Regions from separate parts of the Homo sapiens genome. Here all the other regions are linked to region 1. The links are contacts of gene promoters, found by promoter capture Hi-C in blood cells and fetal thymus (Javierre and others, 2016). All regions are on one chromosome and are shown on one strand. The core of a region is centred on a gene start or on the middle of the fragment in contact, and the rest is flanking DNA. Distances in the headings are between cores, read along the strand shown. Region 1 holds the start of SAMD4A (sterile alpha motif domain containing 4A). Region 2 overlaps GCH1 (GTP cyclohydrolase 1). Region 3 overlaps SOCS4 (suppressor of cytokine signaling 4). Region 4 has its middle 49 kb from the start of MIR4308. Region 5 has its middle 19 kb from the start of GCH1. Region 6 overlaps GCH1 (GTP cyclohydrolase 1).

Evidence for each region. Contacts are between HindIII fragments. The CHiCAGO score rates a contact against its expected background, and 5 or more counts as called.
Region 2: a contact is called between a fragment that was not itself captured here and the fragment with the promoter of SAMD4A in region 1, in 16 of 17 cell types (total B cells, megakaryocytes, M1 macrophages and 13 more). The highest score is 12.9, in total B cells.
Region 3: a contact is called between a fragment that was not itself captured here and the fragment with the promoter of SAMD4A in region 1, in 1 of 17 cell types (total CD8 T cells). The highest score is 5.6, in total CD8 T cells.
Region 4: a fragment that was not itself captured here is called in contact with the fragment with the promoter of SAMD4A in region 1 in 6 of 17 cell types (megakaryocytes, M0 macrophages, M1 macrophages and 3 more); the score reaches 8.0 in megakaryocytes.
Region 5: a fragment that was not itself captured here is called in contact with the fragment with the promoter of SAMD4A in region 1 in 1 of 17 cell types (M2 macrophages); the score reaches 5.0 in M2 macrophages.
Region 6: a fragment that was not itself captured here is called in contact with the fragment with the promoter of SAMD4A in region 1 in 5 of 17 cell types (M1 macrophages, M0 macrophages, total B cells and 2 more); the score reaches 8.2 in M1 macrophages.

The regions. Positions count from the first base shown.
Region 1 is chr14:54,565,726-54,568,431 of GRCh38, forward strand. SAMD4A (sterile alpha motif domain containing 4A) reads left to right here and starts at 1,403. Exons shown (of 13, transcript NM_015589.6): 1 at 1,403-1,613; 2 at 1,771-2,387. The coding sequence starts at 2,192. RefSeq lists silencers at 185-314, 875-924, 1,045-1,234, 2,075-2,134, 2,375-2,434. The HindIII fragment of the contact is 5,259 bases long and covers 1-2,706 here.
Region 2 is chr14:54,886,296-54,888,995 of GRCh38, forward strand. The region is part of intron 1 of GCH1 (GTP cyclohydrolase 1); the gene reads right to left. Among named protein-coding and RNA genes, the nearest start is that of MIR4308, 9.5 kb to the left of the region's middle. The HindIII fragment of the contact is 763 bases long and covers 914-1,676 here.
Region 3 is chr14:55,030,412-55,033,111 of GRCh38, forward strand. SOCS4 (suppressor of cytokine signaling 4) reads left to right here. Exons shown (of 3, transcript NM_199421.2): 2 at 1,452-1,580. Among named protein-coding and RNA genes, the nearest start is that of SOCS4, 4.5 kb to the left of the region's middle. The HindIII fragment of the contact is 947 bases long and covers 898-1,844 here.
Region 4 is chr14:54,827,290-54,830,242 of GRCh38, forward strand. No RefSeq gene overlaps it. Among named protein-coding and RNA genes, the nearest start is that of MIR4308, 49 kb to the right of the region's middle. The HindIII fragment of the contact is 1,921 bases long and covers 560-2,480 here.
Region 5 is chr14:54,920,299-54,923,151 of GRCh38, forward strand. No RefSeq gene overlaps it. Among named protein-coding and RNA genes, the nearest start is that of GCH1, 19 kb to the left of the region's middle. The HindIII fragment of the contact is 1,801 bases long and covers 588-2,388 here.
Region 6 is chr14:54,855,845-54,858,661 of GRCh38, forward strand. All of the region lies in intron 3 of GCH1 (GTP cyclohydrolase 1), which reads right to left. Among named protein-coding and RNA genes, the nearest start is that of MIR4308, 21 kb to the right of the region's middle. The HindIII fragment of the contact is 202 bases long and covers 1,421-1,622 here.

The sequences.
Region 1 (2,706 bases), core at 153-2,652:
GCGCCCTCGGGTCCCTTTCTGCCGGGGCTCCAGTGGCTTGAGTGTCCCGACCCCTCCAGAACACGCAGGCGGCCGCAGGAAGAAATTCACCCGGACCCGTCCTCTTCCCCGAACTTCTTCGTTCCTCTCGGAGGTTCCTTCTACCCGACCCCTCTGCGCCACCAGCTCCTCCCACTCCGCTCCCCTCCCCTTTTTCTGGTCCCCACTTAGGAATCCGTCCCCCCGCCCTGCGCCGGGTCCGGGGTTCCTCCCCCCGGCTCCCCCCGCGTGCCGTCGCCGCCGCCCGGGTTCCTCTCCCCCCGCTCGGGCGCTCCCTGCCAAGCCCATGATGTAATGGTGTATGTTAATCAGTAGCATGTGGGGAGCTCCGGCTCGGGCGGCTCAGTCCTCCGCGAGCCGACACTGGAGGCAGCAGCAGCGGCGGCTGCAGCGGCCCCGACTCGAAGCACCGCACTCTCCCCGCGCCGCCCGCCCCGACGGCATGGCCCGCGGCCGGCGCTCCGGGCGCCCCCAACCCCGCTGAGAGCCGCCGCGGCCCCGGACCCGCGCAAGGGCCCCCGAGCCGCCGGGATGAGCCGCGCCGAGGTGAGCGCTCCCTCCCTACGGCCCTCGGCGGGGGACCCGCGGGTCACTGGGGGTCCCCTCCCCGGGGGCTTCCCCCTCCGCCCGAGAAGTTCTGGGAGCCGGAAGCAGCGTGTTGTTGGAAGCTAGCGGCTCCTTGAAGGCTGAGTCGCTGGGTTCTCCTCCCCGCCGGCGGCGGCCACGAGAACCGGGATGGGACTGGGGGAACCCCCGCAGCCGAACTTTCTTTGCTGTCGTTGGGGGGCGTGTGCCTGCGGCGCCGATCCGCATTCCCCGCGGGGCCGCCCCGCTGGCCGAAGGGAGCAGCGCTGCGGACCCCGGCCGTCCCCTCGCGGGGCGTGTGCCCAGCGCTGTGCCGCCCTCGGCCTGCGACGCGCGGGCGAGGCTCCGGGCCGGACAGACCAGCCCGTAGGCGGCGGCGGCAGGATGCCTGCCACACACGCGCGCACACACACACGCACACGCGCGCGCACAGTGACCGCTCCGGCCGGAGCAGGCCCAGGGAGACCTCCCGGGTGGGCTGGTGCGGCGCGGCGCGGGGGAGCCGGGGCTCTGGGTTGCGCCGCCGCCCGCTGGGCGCGGAGCTTTGGGTGGAGAGAGTTTATTTTTGTCTCGAGCTGCTGCCGCGGCTGCTCACGGCCTAAATCCAGAGGGGCGCCTGGCGGTGGAGATGCTGGCTGTTGCTGTAGATGGAGCTGCAGCCGCTCGGCTGCTTCTCTGGGAGGAGGAGGAGGAGTAAGAGGAGGAGGAAGGAACTCGGGCTGCCGCTGCCTCCGCCTCTGCTTTGCATTAGCTCCCACCCCCACCCCCGCGCCCCTTCGCAGCCGCATTGCAAGTTTTCTGCGCGGGGAAGATCTGTTGCTGGTGCTGGCGTTCTTAAGCACGGCGCCCGAGGCCACCCCAGGCGGGCCGTGAGGGGAGCACCAGCCGTTGGCAGCGGCAGCAACAGGAAGCCGCGGGGTCTCCTCCCGCACCTGGGAAGCAGGCTTCTCGCTGTTACCCGGTGGGGAATAGCCCATCTCCCACATCGGGTGCGGAGGGGGCGGAGGGGGCGGCTGGATTTCGGCGAACCCAACCTTCCGCGGGACGCCCCCTCCCCTGGCCCCAGCACCCTCTGATGCCCTCGTCCCCCCAGGGCGCGCTCCTCCGCTAGCCGAGGTCTCACTGCAGCTCTTTCTCTCCTTCCAGTGGTGATCGCCGCTCGGGAATGCGGGCGTGAAGGGTCCGAGTTGCCGCCCAGCGGGGAGGAGACCCCAGGACGCCGGAAATCACCATCCCAAAGCTGCAAGAAGGGGGGAGAAAGCATTCTTCATTCAGTTGTGTGCCTTGTGGGGGATTTTTAAAAAGTCGTTTTTTTTTTTAAAGAAACATTTCCGTGCTACTGTCTGTCATCGTCTCTGGGGAAATCAGCCAGAACCACCGGAACGTAACTGAAACCAGACAAGAGAGGCAGGAGCCCAGGCAGTACCTGCAGCGTCCGGGCACCAGAGCCACCTTGGAACAGGAACGCGTCTCCGGCCGCGGGGCTGCGGCTCCGCCAAACTTTGGGGCGGGCGGGGCGGGCTGGGGCGCCCAGGGGGCTCTGTAGACCGAGGGCGGCCCCCTAACCATGATGTTTCGCGACCAGGTCGGGGTGCTGGCGGGCTGGTTTAAGGGCTGGAACGAGTGCGAGCAGACTGTTGCGCTGCTGTCGCTGCTCAAGCGCGTGAGCCAGACCCAGGCCCGCTTCCTCCAGCTCTGCCTGGAGCACTCGCTGGCCGACTGCGCCGAGCTGCACGTCCTCGAACGCGAGGCCAACAGCCCCGGTAAGTGTGCGGCGGCCGCCGCCGCCGTCCCGCCTGCCCAACCCCCGCTCCTCCCTCCGCTTCTCTGCCTCGGGCCAGGCCGAGGCCAGTCCCTGCCAGCCGCGCCGGGACCTGGACGGCGTGGCCCCGAGGCCCTCGGAATCCACCCCCTCCGGGTGTCCCCCCACTACCGCCCCCCACCTACTTACCTCCGCCGGCCGCTTTGGGATTTTGCCCACTGTGAACTCCGTCAGCCCTTTCCGTGTGGTAGCTACGGTAGCATGAATGATTGATTTTTCTCTCATGCAGTTTCCTGGGAAATAAGTAAGTCAGGTCACGT
Region 2 (2,700 bases), core at 45-2,544, 320 kb after region 1:
CCTACCACAACTCGCATTAGTCAAAACCAGTTATAGGCCGGGCGCGGTGGCTCATGCCTGTAATCCCCGCACTTTGGGAGGCCGAGGCCGGTGGATCACGAGGTCAGGAGATTGAGACCATCCTGGCTAACACAGTGAAACCCCGTCTCTACTAAAAATACAAAAAATTAGCCGGGCGCGGTGGTGGGTGCCTGTAGTCCCAGCTGCTCGGGGGGCTGAGGCAGGAGAATGGCGTGAACCCGGGAAGCGGAGCTTGCAGTGAGCCGAGATCGCGCCACTGCACTCTAGCCTGGGTGACAGAGTGAAACTGTCTCAAAAAACAAAACAAAACAAAAAAAACACCAGTTATTGTCCCGACTTTACAGATGAGGACACAGATACTGTCATTTGGAAACACTAGCTGACTGCTGAAGAAGAGCCAACCAGCCGGTGGGAGAGCTAGATTTTGACCCATCTTCTGACTCCAGACCAGAGCCTTAATCTTGGGCTGAACTCAACCTACTAGAAGTGTGGACTGAAGGGGAGAGGTCCCCTTCAGGAAACACGCATCAGGGGTTATTGTAGGTTGAAGTCTGCCATGTGGTGACAAGGCCCAGAGCTGATGACAGCAAAAGACAGCAAATCTGATTTTTTAAAAGAAAAGTAAAATCCATTATAAACTGTCAGCCAGGAGAGCAGAGCAGAAAGAGTGGCCTAATGCCCAGAGACTGCCAGAACCAAAGTGGTGCGCATCAGTCACAAAATACTGTTTCACCAACTATTTATTTGGCTTATTTGAGGGAAAATTCAGAAATGTAATGCTATGTTGACCTTTTCTTTTTGAAATCAAACTGGAAGAATTTCAGGGGAAAGGAAAATCCCATTAAATCTTCAAACTAATAAAACATTTTTTAAAAAGGAACTTCTCTAGAGAAGCTTATCCTAGAAAACCAGTGAAACAGGGCTTTTAAAAACCAATTAGAAGTCTTTAAATCTTCAAGATCCAAATACTTAGTGTCTCCCAGTTGTGACAGTGCATGAAGTACAGAGCATTCCTGCTAAAAATGTTTTCCAGGAATTTAGTGAGGTCTTTAGACCTGACTTGCAGTTACCAGGAATATGAGAAATATAGAAGTTAAATGAAAACAAACAAACAAAAATCATACAAATCATAAAGGTAGAGTATCTTACAGGACAACTGACCTCTCTGATAAAGCAGTGGCAGGGGTTGGGGGCGGTAGGCGCTATTCCAGATTAAAACGTAATAATCAAATGCAAATGTATGGACCTTGAGTGGATCCTTGTTGGAAAAAATCATTAGTAAAAGACATTTGAGACACCTGAGGAAATGTGAATATATATTAGGTATTAGATGATATGAAGGAATGAATAGCTAATTTTACTAAGGGTGGTGTAAATCATTAAGAAAAACGCTTTTTAGGGTGACATTTCACCTCTAAATACATGTCTCTGATTTACTATCAGTAAACGAATAAACTACGCCAATATGGCAGAATGTTAGTTTTCAATCTAGGTGGTAAGTATATAGGTGTCTATTATATAATTTTGACTACTTTTATGTTTGAAGGTTTTACATAATAAAAAATTAAAGTTTACAAATACATGAGACTAACAGTGAATATTAGTTTTTTCGGTATTACTATTCTACCCAACCACTCCTTTTCTAGTTTATATGAAGCTTTATTAATAAACTAAAACTTCAAGCACTAGTAAAACTAACAACTGGTTATTATTTTGGTAGAAGCAACAACAACATTCTTGGGGGGAAAAGTCTTTAAATAAAGGCTCTGTCTAATCAAAGGAGCTACAGGTAGGAAGACCATAGATCCCAAGAACATTTAGATAAGAAACCTTTTCAAAAATCTGCATCATAAGAAAAAAGACAGAGACCTGTTACTATAGAAACGATTTGCAGGGCTTGAACATTTCCAGGGAAAACAGCACCTCTAGCAAGGAAAGGAGGCTGAAGAGCTTCCTAGGGCCTTGCCTGTCAGCTGCTGGAAGTCAACAGAGTGAGCGATGACAATTCTGACAGGCCCACCCATGCTCAGAGACCTCGGCATGACAATTTAACTCCTAGTCCTACTGCCTCTCCCTTCAGAACAGACCCAGAATAGTCAAGTGACTCACCTACCTAAGTTCATAAACCAGTTAGCATATTACTAGCCCAGGCTAGCTGTTCTTCCCATTACAGCAGCACAAAGCTTTGTTGACATACTAGTTTTTTTTTTTTTTGAGATGGAGTCTCACTCTGTCGCCCAGGCTGGAGTGCAGTGGCATGATCTCCGCTCACTGCAAGCTCTGCCTCCCGGGTTCACACCATTCACCTGCCTCAGCCTCCCGAGTAGCTGGGACTACAGGCGCCCACAACCACGCCCGGCTAATTTTTTTTTTTTTTTTTGTATTTTTAGTAGAGACAGGGTTTCAGCGTGTTAGCCAAGATGGTCTCGATCTCCTGACCTGGTGATCTGCCCACCTCAGCCTCCCAAAGTGCTGGGATTACAGGCATGAGCCACTGCACCCAGCCTATACAACTAGTTTAAGAAATACCAAGGAGATTTCAGAATTAGATCAGTGAACAGAATTTCCAACATGCTAAATATGAAGCTGAAAGATGTGCATCTACTTTTTATAAACTACTTCACTTATAAACAGCCCCAGCCCTCAAAAAGCTGTTTACTGTGGTGGAGGAGGGGTAGA
Region 3 (2,700 bases), core at 121-2,620, 460 kb after region 1:
TGTGATATTTCAGAAATGGAAGAGCCTCCTTGACTTCAGATTTCTGAGGCACGTTTTTGTGCAGATTTTCTAGCCTTACATATAGCCTTTGTTTCCCCTCCCCTTTTTCTTAAAAAAATAGTGTTCTTTAAAAAAAGTGTTCCCACCTCTCATTTTTAGAAATGTACTTCTTCTAACATGAAAAGTTCTGAGTAATACTAGGAAGCAGTTAATATTTCTTTTCATTAAGTTCAGTGTATGTTGTTTTCATACCTTTTACTCCTGGCAGTAAAAACATGAGGTAGCTGGCATTATCCAGATTTTACAGTGGGAGAACTTAAGCTAAATTAGATTTTTTTAAACCAGGTAACATACCTAGTGAGTGGAAAAGTCTGAATTGTAGCCCACATTTGACAGTTCAGCAGCTCATGCTATTTCATCTTCACCATGTTTATTTTCAAATATGGTATAGTGAAAAACAGTGTAGGTTGTTAATTTTTTACAGATCTTTAAAACTTTAAAATTTTCTCTTTATGCTTAATTGGTCTCACAAGAAAAAAGAATTCAAGGAAATAAGCCAAAATGTCAAAATTGCTTGCTTTTAAATAATGGAATTATAGCTTTTTTCCCCCTCCTTTTTAAACTTTTCTGAATGGTCCATGTATTATACAATGAGCATATATTGTTTTTATCATAACAAATTACAGATTGGAAGAAAAAATAAATCTGTTCAATCTAATTTATTCCATAAAATGGTTCAGTATTATATCTTAAATATTCTGTTTCTTAAATTCTGTTAATCTTCCTTCTGCTTTTAGAAGTTCAGGTACTGCCAGCTCGTAGTTTCTGCTTTCTTCACTCTAGATTAGCCCCTTCAGTGATGGGTTCCTAGACCTCTCTCCTTATCTTTAGCTAATAAGCTTAGGGAATGTACACTGATGTTAACAGATTAGCCCATTAATGTTTCCCCAAACTTTCTTCCACAAAAGGATTTATGGCAAAGTAAAGACAGGAAGCTATGGTTTATGCAGATTTCTTTACTGAAGGATCTCCTGGGAACGTTTGCTAAATATGCACTGTAATCTTTGAGAGAAGAAGCATTTCCCAAACTTATTTGACAAGAGAACCTTTTTTTCTCCAGAATATGTGTTAACATCTTTCAGAACTAGTGTCCACAAGAGTACAGAGTGGGGAAAAGTGACATAAGCAAACTATAATTAGGAAAGCATGGAAAAAGTGGGGAGAAAGGGAAAGGAGGGTGTAGTGCTACTAAATCAATGATTCTTTTTTAGAAAATTGCAATTAAGTCCCATGAGCCCTGGCTCAGTAGCATGAAAAAAGGAGATACTTTAAAATATTTACTGGAAAATGAACCTGTATTGCTTCTGTAATGAGAAAACATTTGTTTTTTAGGTCAGATATTTTCCCATACAAACAAACCTGTTTTCAGATTTTTTTCTTAACATTCCAAGGAGTTCATCTGTTGTCTGCTCTCCAGTGACTTCCGTTTGTGGAGCCTAAGTGTTTCTACAGAATCCAACTCAAATATCAAGGACTATGATCAGAATGCTTTCAAGGAGTTTTTGGGCACATGATGGCAGGTAAACTTTGGAATCATGAATTTCGTAGGGAAAGTCCCCAGGCTTAATTACTACCAGAATAATAATATATTTGTGAATTATTAATGTAGTATACTGAATTATTCTTTATAGGATCAAATGTATTCCAATTTAGTATTTACATTAGTTGTGGTGTTAGATGTATGTCAGCATCATAGACATAAGTAGTTCAATGAATAATTAACGTATGCAATAATGCTGTTATCCTACATCATAGAGGATACTAATTAATTTCCAGATAAATGAAGCTTATCCTTTTAATTATTGGATTTGAATTGTTTCCTGTAGAAATTTTGAATTAAAATCACCTTCTCAGCCTTAGTCAGTATTACTAAATGTTATTTAAATATTTTGTAATGAAAATTGACATAATGGGCACTCATTTTGTTATTGTTGTCATTGTAATTTGTGGTAGAACCTGGGACCAAATAGTGGCAGAATCTGGGTACTTGTTTTCTTGAGAAGGCTTTTATATAAACTTGCTTTTTAAACATTTGCTTTTTGCTCATTAAGAAATATGACTTAAAAAAAAAAAGATGTCATTCTGTACTCCCCAGGGCAATGTAACATAGCTGCCTTCGTAAAAAATTAATTATTGAATCAAGAGCCAAAGCAGCCTTTTCCCAAGTGATTCTTTCACCTTCTTTTTAAAAAGCTTTTTTGCAGCTACAGTCAAAGATCTTTGATTTGTCACCATCTTTCAAACCATCATCTTTGATTTCTGTGTCACATGAAATTGTTGGTAAAGCCACCTTATTATTATTCTACCTCATGTATACAAAGTTTTTTTTTTTCTTTTGAGACGGAGTCTCACCCAGGTTAGAGTGCAGAGGCACGATCTCAGCTCACTGCAAGGTCCGCCTCCTGGGTTCATGCCATTCTCCTGCCTCAGCCTCCCGAGTAGCTGGGACTAGAGGCGCCTGCCACCACACCCGGCTAATTTTTTGTATTTTTAGTAGAGATGGGGTTTCACCGTGTTAGTCAGGATGGTCTCGATCTCCTGACCTCGTGATCCACCCACCTAGGCCTCCCAAAGTGCTGGGATTACAGGTGTGAGCCACCGCGCCCGGCCCTATACAAAGTTTTTATAAAATTTTAAGAA
Region 4 (2,953 bases), core at 270-2,769, 260 kb after region 1:
GTTTCAGCCTCATTATCCCCCCTGAATTAATACAATAGCCTCCTAAGCTGTCCATCCTCCAACTCTGATTACAACCCACAATCCCCTGCTTGACATCTTTCCACCAGCTTTTCGCAACTTCAATATCAGTTCTTGGGCAGGGCATGTCTGTGGTATGTCCTCTGCCTATCTCTTCGGTCTCTATCGCCACTACTCCCCTCTCCAACATGGGATCAACCTATAATAGAGCTTTTATTCAGTGTGCTTCAAATATTTGTTTACATTACATATATCTCTCCCTAGACTTGAGGACGGGGAAGTCTCACTCATATTTATACTCCAGCATGCAACACAGTTAAACCTAAGGAAACAAAGCCTTAACAAAGGCACTTGGAAGATCTGCGTTCTCCCCATCAATGGCAACTACTGGTGACAAGGAAGGAAGCTATGGGTGCTGTCTTCTAGGGAGTCTTCTCAGGGCAGGCAGGACCTCACTTCCAGGACTCACCTGGCCTGGTCACCTGTGGGTGGAGACAGGGCCTGACATTCATGAAATCTCCTTTATGTCCAACCCTTCAGAAGCTTCTTTTGATGCCAAGGGGCCCAACTCAGAGCCCACATCTCTATGTCTATGACCTCCTACATTATTTTTGTCTTGGTAATGAAATTTCCAACAATGTAATACTCACCGAAATAGAGCTTCATAGGGATGTTCCTATACTTAGACAGTAAAAACAAATGAGAATAGGGTAGAGGAAAAGGAGAAGCATGAAGTTTAACTCCTTAGAGCCCATCAAGACCTTGAAGCCCTTTAAGACAAAATTTCCATAGTTGCAAATGCTGGGGGAACTGATGCTTACCTGCTCCATGTAAATTCCTCTTTGCAGCCCAGATGGCTGGAGCTCTTTGCTATGCATGGGAGGGAACCACACAAATGTGTTAGATCTGAAGCAGGGGTTTGCAAATTATGGCTTGCTGGCCAAATCCTACCCACCATCTGTTTTTGTATGGTCCATGAGCTAAGAATGCTTTTTACATTGTTAATGAATGAAAAAAAAAAAAAGAATATTTCACGGCCACAAAAATGGCATGAAATTCAAATTTTGGTGTCCATGAATAAAGTTATATTGGAACACAGTCACATTCATTTACATATGGTTTATGGTGGATTCCACACGAGAATGGCAGAGTTGAGTAGTTATAACAGAAACCATGTGACCTGCAAAGTCTAAAAGTTTTACCATCACGCATTTTCCAGAAAAAGGTTGCCAACCCCTGATCTGAAGTACCAAACACCTGTGAATAACAGAAAACTAAAGATGCAAAATGCAGGCCAAATAAAGTTAGTGAGAGCAGTGATTCCTTTATTTCATCTAAGAATTCATTCATAGTCATGTGCCACATAAGGACGTTTTGGTCAATGATGGACCGTATATACGATGGCGGTCTCATAGGGTCCCACACCCTATTTTTAGTGTACCTTTTCTACGTTTTAGTAAGTTTAGATACACAAATACTTACCAGTGTATCACAACTGCCTACAGTATTCAGTGCAGGTTTGTAGCCTAGGAAAAATAGGCCATACTATACAGTTTAGGTGGGTAGTGAGCTATACCATCTAGGTTTGTGGAAGTAAAATCTATGATGTTCACAAAATGATGAAATCGACTAACGATGCATTTCTCAGAAGGAATCCGTGTCGTTAAGCAACACATAACTGTACTTCACTTGTATCCTTTTCTCCCAAAACATCACTTTAGTTGTAACACTCAAGGATATTTCAAATAATCATTACAGACATCCTGCTTACCCATATTCTCTTGGCTCCATATGTGTAGATATAGATATATTTTTTCACTTTTAACATAGTAAATACAGGCACCTAATTTTAAAAAATCAAATAGTGACAAACAGAAGTTTTATAATCTAAGCAAGAGTTCTTTGTCTTTCTCCCTCCCACCTCCTCTCTTAAAGAGACAATCACTTATGTCTTTTTGCTATTTCTTTGGTAGTTACTTGATAAAAAATTGTGCTTAAATTGTTCCTTCTTGATAGATGAATTTTGATGTTATCTAATCTTTGTTATGACAGATGAAGATTTAACTCATACTTCTCCTTCCTCCCAAGATAAAGGTTATCTCACAACAATTTTTAGTTAACTGAGTAATCAGTACTTACATTATGATTATGCAAATAACTTCTCACCACAGGGGCAAGTGGTAGCTCACGGTGACCTTTTTTTTTTTTTTTTTTTTTGAGAGAGGGTTTCACTCCTGGTCAAGCGATCCTCCTGCCTCGGCCTCCACATAGCTGGGACTACAGGCACATGCCACCACACCTAGCTAATTTTTAAAATTTTTTTGTGAAGATGAAATCTCATTACGTTGCCCAGGCTGGTCTGGAACTCCTGGCCTCAAGCAATCCTGCATTCTCAGCCTCCCAAAGTGCCACGGTTATCTTTCTAATTTATACTCCTTTTTGTTTTGTTCCATGTATCTGAAAGCTTTAGAAGGGGGAATGCTGTCCTGGTACCATCAGAAGTTCTAGGTCTCCAAATAATGATCTTCCCCAAATTCAGTACATTATCAGAGCAATTACATATTTAGAAAAGAGATTATGCAGCACAGATATTGCTTTAAAAATAAAAGGTCTGTTCAGAATTATAGGAATGTGAGTCTGAACTTTCCTTCCAAGTCGTAATGCCTCACTGTGGCTTTTACAGAAGGCAGAGTCTGGAATTTTTGCTTCCACTCCTAAGGGAAAGAGTAAAAAGAAAAGGGTGAGGCAGGCAGTTCTGCATCCCTCATTTCGTTGGCTTACACAACACTTTATCAAGAACAAATTCCCCCAAATGTCCATTCTCCAGTCTCTAAAAGTAAGAGAGTAATGAACGCTGTGACTCCCAGTCCACATGTATCCCTAGATGTGATGCTAACTAATGCTTTGAAGGATTCTCAGCCAGAACCAACCAACT
Region 5 (2,853 bases), core at 238-2,737, 350 kb after region 1:
AGTCACCTGGCTTCTGCATCAAGTGGCTCTTTGCAGACCTCCATAAATATTAGTATTATGCCTGCTTAAGGGAAATGAGAAAATGTTAGGTTTATACACTGCCTTTCTCTTGGGATTTTATAATACTAAGCAAAGAGCCATCAGCTGAGCCTGCCACATTCTCTTTGAAGGCTGTTGGATAGGTTTTTTTGTGCCTTGAAAACAGAGCAGAAGAAGAGATTTATCTCCAGGGTTTTCTGATCCTATGGGAAAGGAGTAGTCCTTACTCAACAATCATTGTTGATAATCAAGAGAGAGACCTGGGAAATAATCCGATTTTCCCACACAAGGGTCTAACCTGACATTTTCTTTCTTCCCACTGAGAGCAGGCTGGCAAGCACCTTTAAGGCAAAACAACAGTCAAGTTATTGCCAAACCTTTTAGCAAATAGTGTATGAATTTTTCGTTTTAAGTGTAAATATTATTTATTTTAAATTCCCTTTTTCCTTCCAAGACTGATTTTTAAAAAAATTTATGTTGTTTGAATCTCCACAGGCGGGACATTCACTTTGATATTCAATTAAGTGGGTTTTTGTGATTGCTAAGCAAGCTTATCATATGTTTAACAATAATATACTGTTTTTAATTAGAAAAATAAAGACAATTATTTTAAACTGGATTAAAATGTTATAATCATTTTGCTGTATTTTTAAAAATCAGTTTTCCTATGTACAGTTATATTTTATTTTACTTTTTTTTTTTTTTTTTTTTTAGAGACGGAGTCTCGCTCTGTCGCCCAGGCTAGAGTGCGGTGGCAAAATCTCGGCTCACTGCAAGCTCCGCCTCCCAGGTTCACACCATTCTCCTGCCTCAGCCTCCTGAGTAGCTGGGACAACAGGCGCCCGCCATCACGCCTGGCTAATTTTTGTATTTTTAGTAGAGGCGGGGTTTCACTGTGTTAGCCAGGATGGTCTCGATCTCCTGACCTCGTGATCTGCCCACCTCGGCCTCCCAAAGTGCTGGGATTACAGGTGTGAGTCACCGCGCCCGGGCTTTTTTTCTTTTTGAGACAGGGTCTCTTTTAGTCACCCAGGCTGGAGTGCAGTGGCACAATGATGGCTCACTGAAGCCTTGACCTCCCAGGCTCAAGCAATCCTCCTGCCTCAGCCTCCTGGGTAGCTGGGACCACAGGCGCATGCCACCACCCCCAGCTAATTTTTTTTAACTATTTTTAGAAACGGGGTCTCACTATATTGCCCAGGCTTGTCTCAAACTCCTGGGCTCAAGGGATCTGCCCACCTCAGCTTCCCAAAGCGGTGGGATTACAGGCACAAGCCGCCATGCCTGGCCTTATTTTACATCTTTACATTTCACTGGTAACCTCCTTTTTTCTTTTATTGTTATTATTAGCACTATATGAATTTTTCCATGTTACAACAAAATTTTCATAGTTTACAAAAAGAGCTTCTTATTAAAATCTCTTATTAACAACAGAAGTCTTCATCATTGGCTATCACTCAAGGACAATAAGATGACCTTTGTCAGGGTCTTAAATCTGTACCCGTTATAGATAAACAAATTATTCTGTTTTTAAGATATTTTTTAAGATACTATTCTGTACTTAGATAAAAATCTGAAGCATGTGACCTTAGGTAAATTATTTAACCTCTCTTAACTCAGCCTCTTTATCTGTAAAGTGGGGATAATAATGAAACCCAGTTCAAACAGAACTAAGCTCAGGACCTCTCACATGCTGAGCAATCAATAAAGGAACATAGGAAATGTATGTTTTTTTGTTGTTTTTGTTTTTTTCAGACAAAGTTTCACTCTTGTTGCCCAGGCTGGAGTACAGATGCACGATCTTGGCTCACTGCAACCTCCACCGCCCGGGGTTCAAGCGATTCTCCTGCCTCAGCCTCCCGAGTAGCTGGGATTACAGGCATGCACCACCACACCTGGCTAATTTTGTGTTTTTAGTAGAGACAGGGTTTCTCCATGTTGGTCAGGCTGGTTTCGAACTCCCAACCTCAGGTGATCCGCCTGCCTCGGCCTCCCAAAGTGCTAGGATTACAGGTGTGAGCCACTGAGCCCGGCCAGGAAATGTATGTTTTAAACAAGAATCATTTCCTGTCAAAACAAATGAAAAAGAAAGCGTTGGACTTTTACTGCCAGTTATCAAATTAGAGGCCATGTGTAGGGGTAGCCTAAAGAAATATAAGTTGACTGGGTGCAGTGGCCCATGCCTATAATCCCAGCACTTTGGGTGGATCACTTGAGCTCTGGAGTTCAAGATCAGCCTGGGCAACATGGTGAAACCCTTTCTCTATATTAAAAAAAGAAAAGAAAAGAAAAGAAATATAAGCCATGTACAATCCATGGAAAATGTTATCTCTTGATTCAGCAGTGCCAAGCTTGCCTTTGTCAGGAACTGCCAGCCTCCCTCTCTGGCAGAGCCACGGTCAGACAACACAGCGGCTCTCTTCCCCACCTCAGTCAGCTCTGCCTCCAGGCAAGCTTGGCTGGCCTGCACCTCTCAATCGCCCAGCACATCTTGAAAACTCTATCAGACAACACACAGCTGGTTTTCTACAAAGAGCAGGACATGTTATTTTCCTTTAGCCCTCAAATGTCTAAATATTATTCCAAACAAAATTTTGTAATGAATCCCACATTTCTAATTCACTGTAAGCTGCTTTTCAAACATGCTGAAATGCCTAGTGCAAAAGGGAAGAAATACTACTAGATTTTCCAGGGCTTAAAAAAAAATTCTATTTTACAATTTCAGATTTAAAGAAAATTTGCAAAAATAGTCAAAGAATTCCCATACGCCCTTCAACCAGACCCCCTAGATATTAATTCCTGCTTCATCATTTG
Region 6 (2,817 bases), core at 272-2,771, 290 kb after region 1:
AAGCAAGTTGTAGTACAGAATATAAGATATGATCTTATGTTTGTGCTTGCATAAATATTTTCCAGAAGGATAGTGAAAGAAATCTCTAGTTCTAACTCTGGGGAATGAAAATAGGTAAGAAAAGTTTTCACTTTATTCACTCATTTGTATTTAAATGGTATGTTGCTTTTATAGTCAAAAAAGAAAAAAAAATACTGCTCCCTCTGTAATCTAATACTCACCTCACTTACTCTTACTTCCATCAGTCAATCTGGTTCCCATCCACTGGAATAGGCCTTGCTCCTACCCTCTGACTGGTCTTTGCTCATGCATTAACTATACCTAGAGAAACTTCTCCCCCATTTAGAATTCTGCTCATCCCTCCACCTCCAGGTCTATTCACCTGCCAGGCCACAGCCATCATGGCTCCTCTGAACTTGGAGCTACAGCAGGCATTTCCATGGCACTTGCAGTCTTGCCCTGTGCACTCTCCTTGAGGGTGGCTGCCATGTCCTGCTTCTTTAGCCTCCACAGTAGCTGGCACAGTGCCCACCCAACAGGTCAGCCATGGCTACCTGAGATACTACAACTCTAAATTCAAGATTTCGTACATTCACTCAATTATTTATTTATTTATTTATTTTTAGTGACACAGAGTCTTGCTCTGTCACGAGACTGGAGTGCAGTGGTGAAATCTCGGCTCACTGCAACCTCCGCCTCCCAGGTTCAAGCGATTCTTCCATCTCAGCCTCCGAAGTAGCTGGGATTACAGGCGCATGCTACCATGCCCTGCTAATTTTGGTATTTTTAGTAGAGATGGGGTTTCACCATGTTGGCCAGGCTGGTCTGGAACTCCTGACCTCAAGTGATCTGCCCACCTCGGCCTCCCAAAGTGCTGAGATTACAGGCATGAGCCACCTCACCCAGCCGAGGCTCAGTTATTTCTAAGGGAAGAAAATGAATACATGTTCAATGGCTTTTCAGCAACAAAAGAAAGTTCTATTCAAACTAAGTTTATTCTAGAATTCTACTAGAGTTGAGCCAGATCAACTCACTTCTGGCATTTTCTTGTTACTTAAGGCTTTACTGCTTGATATTTGACTTCACTGGCACTGAAAGGTCATTCATTTAAAGGCAAGCATATAACAAACTTCATATATAAGATTAAAATGAGCAGTGAAGTTTTGCTAAGACATTCAGCTTTTATTCCTCTTCATTCTCTAAATATTCTTACTTCTTATAAGGAATAAGTAGTTGGATAAAATCTTAGTCTTCTTTTCTATTTAATAGACTCTTTATTCAAATTTTTTGCAAAATATTTGAAAGCAACATACACTTGGTTCTTTGGCTTCATGTTCCATTTTATTCTTAAATTTTAATCCTATTAGTCTAAGGACAAATCCCCATGCTAATAATCAACTCCTTTGTATTGTTTCATAAAAGCTTAATTATTTGAGATCTTTTCCTTTCACTTGGAAAGGAAATAACTAAGATTATTTCCTTCTACCACCAGGTTGCCATTTATTGTATGATCTCACTGAATCACTCAAGAGTCCATTTCCCATAAAGTGTTAATCATGATCAACAGTTGGTTTTTCAGAGAAGGCTGTTACATTAAGACCAAGGCCTAATGTGATCTGCCAAGCTTTTTTACACTATGAAACTATCCATTACACCTTTCACATATGGACAGTCTGTTATAGGCATCAGCAGTGCTGGAATTTCTATATGGGCAAGGTATAGGGTTAGCAATCTTGCTGACAGGGAGGCCCAGGGGACTGGGCCTACAGCTATGTTTGCACAGTAAGCATGCTGATTTTACTTAGACTGTATATTATAAAACCATAAGAATAACCAATTTTAGTAAAGATACTTTTACTCACAGTTGACATGAAATTGGTTTAATACATCATTAGTTGAGGGTAAGTTACTGGGAAGGGAGTCGTTAATAAAAATTATAGTAAGATTAATTACTCCCAATCACTACCAACACACTTTTTCTCAGCAACTTTTCAGCACTGCCACCAGGGATGGATCACACGCAAGCAGCCAGAATGTTTCTGGATTTGTGCTAAGAGCCTTATTCCAGTGAAGCAATTACAGCTATGATATAATATTCTTTCATGGTGCCAAGCAGCCCTATCTAATAGCAAAATAGCTGAGCAGGAATGAGGTCAGAAACTGGGGAAGTTAAATTTGTCTCTTCTACCCACTTTCTTATTGATCCCCAGAGGAAATGAATGAGAAAGTGGAAGTGAAAACAAAGTAACAGGAACAACTTTAGAGGGCAGTTGTCAGATTGCTGGAGTAGTTTTTTTTTTACAGATTCCAACACAGAATTGAGAAATATCAGGACCACCATTTCACAACTGTGTTAAATCCCAGGGCCTGCATAAAGAAACAGGAACACATCAGAGCCACAGCACAGTCAACTGGTCACAGAGACTCATTTATTCCTCTTCTTTTATTTTTATTTTTTTGAGATAGGGTCTTACTCCATCGCCCAGGCTGGAGTGCAATGGCACAATCTCGGCTCACTGCAAGCTCTGCCTCCCGGGTTCAAGTAATTCTCCTGCCTCAGCCTCCTGATTAGCTGGGATTACAGGTGTGCGCCACCACGCCCAGCTAATCTTTGTATTTTTAGTAGAGATGGGGTTTCACCATGTTGGTGAGGCTGGTCTCAAACTCCTGACCTCAAGTGATCCGCCCGCCTCAGCCTCCCAAAGTGCTGGGATTACAAGTGTGAAAGACGGCACCCGGCCGAGACTCATTTATTTCAATTATGATATGGTCACTATAACCTCAAGTTATTCAAACTTAGCTTGATTATTTTTGAAA